Linked DNA regions of Homo sapiens: region 2 is linked to region 1. Evidence: promoter capture Hi-C in 16 types of primary human blood cells and fetal thymus (Javierre and others, 2016). All regions are on one chromosome and are shown on one strand. Each heading gives the region's core, a stretch centred on a gene start or on the middle of the fragment in contact. The rest is flanking DNA. Distances are from core to core; before and after follow the strand shown. Region 1 has its middle 250 kb from the start of HIVEP2. Region 2 holds the start of ADAT2 (adenosine deaminase tRNA specific 2).

Evidence for each region. The method cuts DNA at HindIII sites, captures the fragments that hold promoters and counts their contacts. A CHiCAGO score of 5 or more calls a contact.
Region 2: a contact is called between the fragment with the promoter of ADAT2 here and a fragment that was not itself captured in region 1, in 13 of 17 cell types (M1 macrophages, total B cells, naive B cells and 10 more). The highest score is 10.6, in M1 macrophages.

What each region holds. Positions count from the first base shown.
Region 1 is chr6:142,691,721-142,694,363 of GRCh38, forward strand. No RefSeq gene overlaps it. Among named protein-coding and RNA genes, the nearest start is that of HIVEP2, 250 kb to the right of the region's middle. The HindIII fragment of the contact is 1,612 bases long and covers 537-2,148 here.
Region 2 is chr6:143,449,383-143,452,025 of GRCh38, forward strand. ADAT2 (adenosine deaminase tRNA specific 2) reads right to left here and starts at 1,313. Exons shown (of 6, transcript NM_182503.3): 1 at 1,181-1,313. The coding sequence starts at 1,276. PEX3 (peroxisomal biogenesis factor 3) reads left to right here and starts at 1,423. Exons shown (of 12, transcript NM_003630.3): 1 at 1,423-1,733. The coding sequence starts at 1,661. It also overlaps the pseudogene RNA5SP221. RefSeq lists enhancers at 319-1,301, 1,104-1,263 and silencers at 344-423, 484-563. The HindIII fragment of the contact is 8,229 bases long and covers 1-2,643 here.

The DNA.
Region 1 (2,643 bases), core at 93-2,592:
AGAAACACATTTGTCTCTAAACACCCAGCCCAGTGGTACATGAAATGATCTTCATCTATTTGTTTCTCAAGCATGAAATGATAGCCTACACACAATCTTTTCATATTGTAGTCACTCTGTGATCTTTCAAAATGAAAATAAAGAGGTCTTGTCACTAGGTGTACAATCTATTTTCCTTGACTTGAAATCTCATCTTTTATTTCTTCAAAGCACATAAGGACTTTATCTTTAATTCTATCTTGTATTCTGTTATCAAATCCATTTGTTGTTGTTCTATGTCTGCTCAGGATGTCTGAACATTTTTACATAGAGTAACTTTAAGTGTGAACCTAAGTCGAATTCAAAACAAGACATCTAACTCTAAGAAAAGCCTTAGGTAAAACTTTGAATATATTTATCTTGAATGCTACAAGATGTCCAAATTATCCCTAGACATCCTCTCTTCACTTTCTTCAGACACCTAACCCTTCCTCCCTCTGCCACCTCAAATTCAAAATTCACACTTAGGAGAAAGATTTGTAATTTTTTCAAATCAAAGCTTATAGTAGAAGCCAATCAACTAATTCTGTAATTGTCTCTTAAACACCCTAAACTATGCAGGACCACTTCATTGCAAAAACAAAATAAACTCTTGAAATCACAAGGTAATATATAGCAATTAACAATTCAACATTACAAACAGTAAGTGCTATTGGTAAATGCTACTTAAGTTCAGGAAATAAAAGGTAATTATCTTTGAGCTGACAAATTTACCGCACTACCAATAAATGAAGGAATTACTGTATAGTGTGCTAGCAGGGATCCTGGGAGATCTGGTGGAGATAGAAGTTCTAGCTGAACTTCAGAACCCTCCAATACAAACAGGCTTATCTGAGGGGACAGGTCAGTCCTGCACACTATTGCAAGTGTTATCAAAGTGTGGTCCACGGACCAGCATCCTCTACACCACTTGGGAGCTTGTTAAAGGTACAGAATCGAGGGCCCCGTCCAGAACTAGTAAATAAAAAATCTAGATTTTTAACAAGCTCCCAGGATGATTATTCATATGCACATTGAAGTTTGAGAAGCTCTGGTCTACACAGTGGCGATTCTGCTCAGTTTCTTCGCATTTTAGTCCTGGGCTTTCAAAGCTACTTGCTTTTTTAAATCAACTATTAATTTGTAGCCTACAATTGTCACAACTGCAAAATTAACTCATTACTTAACTTTATTCTATTTCTCATGCATTTCCCCCTCAACGTCCCTTTTTCTCCAACGGTGGTCCCTTGAGAATGACAGATTTTTCACCACCCAGCAACCAAGGCACTACCCCACATCCTACACGAGGGGGCGCATGAGGACTAAGATTCGGGATCTTCTAGGCCATCTTCTCCACAGTGATTTTTATCAGCGACGGCCCCCTTTCTCCAGGATTGGTTTCCCAATGACATCACTTGGAAGCATGAAGAGTTGCTAGAATCCTCTCCTCCACTCACAAGCCAGGCATTTCCTGAACCCTTGCTGCGTTCGCCGCTTTCCACCCCATACCATTTCCCTAAGAGACAAGCATTCAGATGATCTACCCCCAGGGGTCCCAGGGAAGGAGGGAGAATCATTGCTTTAAATACAACGGCAGATCAGAGGGCCCTTGGTCAATATCCCTGCTCTCATTTCTCCTGTGTTTCATCTTCCATCAGGTCATACAGCCTTGAAAGTCTTTGACACATCACCCCTCCCTTCAGATCCCCACCTCTCCAATATTTCAGCAGAGCTTGGTCTTTTATAATCTAATTTTAAAAAACTCTTGCTCCATTCTGTTCTTTTACTGCAAACAGAGAGTAGCTGAGTGAGTGGCGTGAGGATGAAGAGTCCAGAGCTGAGGCTTGTGGATTTCCTGGGAAGTTACTCACTCAACCTTTGGCCTGGGGAATAATTAGAAAAATGAATGTTTCATTCCCTTGAGAAGGCTTTTTCTTTGTCCACTGGAACCCAATACTGGCGCTGTGGCTGTGTTTTAGAGAGTGTCTAGTGGCGCTAACTTGCTAAATCCATGAGGTTTATCACTGTTATGCACAGTGCCCACCAAGTGTTGGCAACAAGCAACTCGTAAATGCATTTTGGCAATTACTATGAAATTTTCAGTGTCATATGGGTCTTCCACCTCCTAAAAGCTTTTGTCCTGATGAAAGCTTTTATTTTAACTGTAGTTTTTCCCTAATAGGGCTCTATTTCAAACTTTAACAGTTGTAATTATTTGTATCAACGTGCAATCCCACACTTAAACAAATTGGAGCCCACTCCAGAACAAAATTAAAATGGCTTCAAAGAATGACAGAAAAACATTTCTTTTGGCAAGGAATAACAGGAAGGCAGAAGGAATACAGGAGAGATCCAGTGGAGAGGATAAAGCAATGGGAGGCCTTTCCACATGTGTAGCCTCTTAAAAAAATTGCTACCATTCCTTATGTTGCCTATGCAGGATACAACCCTATCTCTTAGTAAAAATGGTCTCCCCACCCCCACAATTCTTGTGGCTATTACCAAACAGTGCTTCTTATAAAAGAAAAAGAATATGACAAAGCAACCACAAGGAAGGTTAAAAAAAAAAGATAAAACCCGGGGCTAGAATACACCCAGTTGATGCTCAATAATGATTGACTTAAA
Region 2 (2,643 bases), core at 63-2,562, 760 kb after region 1:
TGTTTTCAAAGAATTTCTAGACCTCTCTGGCTTTGACATTTTTTGTCTCTTAATTGTATTATAAACACCTAGGGATGTGATTCCATAGTTTACGTCCTCCTACACAGGATTAAGGAGGCAGCTGCTTCTTGGGTTTTAGCATATACAAGTTTCTTCAAGGTCTTAAAGGAAAAAAAGTACTTGTTAGGAGGGCTACATGTCACTGGGCAACAGGAACTTTTCAGCTTCATTATAATCCTATAGCACCACCGCTGTATATGTGGTCCTATAAGATTATAATGGAGCTGAAAAGTGCTAGCGAGCTTCTTAACTGGGATAAAAGTTTGTTTGTAAACGTATGTAAATGTATTTACATGTGCTAGCCCAGGGTCAACCTAAAAGGTAGCGAAAGTGTTTAGCCCAGAAGTCTACATAGAAACTAGGGTTGTCTACCTCCATACCACCCTGAATGTCCCCCGATCTCGGAAGCTAAGCAGGGTCAGGCCTGGTTAGTACTTGGATGGGACAATAGGGCTAAGGTGAGTAGATTTAATGCTCCAGGATAACGACCTTTACCGACAGGTCATTGTGTGGCACGTGGCTGTATGTAGTTATTAAAATGTAAATACATATATTTACAAACAAACTTTTTTTCCCAGTTAAGAAGCTCGCTAGCACACAGCATTCTGTTGAAAGCCCCCTTTATTTCGCAGTCCTGAAGGGAGTGAGGGAAGGAAGTAAAAGGGCAGAGGAAATAATGAATGAATGCGAGACGCCGATTGTACAGGGACTTGTTTCCATACTGCTCTCTACCAGAAACGTTCTCAGTTTCCTTCCTTCTGCTGGACATGTTCCAAGGGCCAAAACCTCAAATAATGTGACTTTGTAGATTGGAGAGTGTGTGACCACAGAAAGGAAAGGGAGGCAGCACGTGCCAGCCGGCGACAGAATGTTAAGTCTGCAGCATACTCCACCGCAATGAAACAAATAATTTGTGTATTTCCTCCCCTTCCTTCGCCCAGAGCCACTGTGAGAATGGGCTACAGAAAGTTTCGAGGCAGTAAAGCCAGTTGTTCACCCAGAACATCTGACTGCCATAAAAATTATGGTGACGAGAAAGAACGTTTGCTCAAATGCCGGGGTCGGGTTGAGGGCTGGAGAAAGGTCCCACCCCGCAGCATCTACCTCCCGGGCTCCTCACCATGTGCATCGCCTCCTCCATCCACTTTTCGGTCTCCTCTGCCGACACCGAGCACGCGCCGCTTGCAGCTGGCTTGGGTGCCGCCTTCGCCTCCATACCCAGCCACCACTCAGCTACAGAGCCCGCGGCAGAGGAGGAGCGCGGGCAGCGGAACGCGGCGGGCCCGGGACCCCGTTTCCGGGGGTAGTCTAATGAAAAGGCACTCGGGAGCTATTTCTGAACGGACCTGGGCTTGTCGGACCAGTGAGCGGCGGCGGCTGCGCGGCGGCAGCGGCAGAAAGCGTAGCTGCTTTGCTGTAGTCCACGCCCCCTTGCCGCTCCGGTGACAGTCTCTGCGGAAAGTCACGTTTGTGATTTCGGGAGAGCACAGAACGGGACGACGGCGCTCTTGCTGGGTCATCTGGGCCAGGTGACGAAGAAACAGTTTCCTGGTGAAGCAGTCCCTCACCCCTAGTCAGCCCACACCCCTAGGGCCTAAAGATGCTGAGGTCTGTATGGAATTTTCTGAAACGCCACAAAAAGAAATGCATCTTCCTGGGCACGGTCCTTGGAGGTGGGTGACAACGTGCTTGAAAGGGGGCATTGGGAGAAGGGGGTGGGAGAGGTGACTTCTTCTAAAATAAGGACAGGCCGGGCGATCCTAGTCTGGGATATGTAGAGGGAGTTCGATCAACCATGGGATGAAAAGGGAGGTGGCCAACCTCCAGGGTTCTCCCATCTCTGCAGTTGAGAAATGCCTCTGTGCCCTTTGCCCTGTCACCGACTCTTAACTCTGTTTCTCACCTATCCTTTTTTCTCACGGACCTTTGGAGAACTCATCACAGTTTAAGTTTCTGTTTCAAGGCACCATTCTCTTACAGGAACTTTTTAAAAAAAATTCTGCTTTCCTGTGAGATTCTGCATTTCTCCTTGGCACTCTTGATACTTTGGCTCTCACCCTTCTCAGGAGTTTAATAATAATCTAGGGAAGTTACCTATAGGCTGCACTTCGGGTGGTGGTTAAAGTCGATTTGAATTTTTGAAAACAGCGCAGTTGTCCTAAAGGACTGAAAGATATGGATTAGATAAAGAAAAACAAATCAATATTTTAGCTCTGTTTCTGCCATTTTAGAATACAAACTATGGCAGTAAGAAAAATGCTTGAGGGATGTTGTGCAATCTTCCTCAGGATCTTCAAGGTTGGGATCATTGTAATCTAGCTGACATAACTGAGTTGCACAGGCCCAGAGGAGATTTAGAAACAGATAAGATAAAAATCTTGAGACGCTTTTCCCTCATACAATGCTCATGTGATAATATTCAGGGATTTGAAGGAGGGAATAAAAGTTTTGTGAATTATATGAAAAGGACATCTAGGAACTATAAAAGAGGAAATTTGTTAGAACTTGAGTTTTTGAGAAATAGTCTCATCACTTATTACATGCTATGTTTACAAAAGTACTTAAAATCAAGAACAGAGTTTC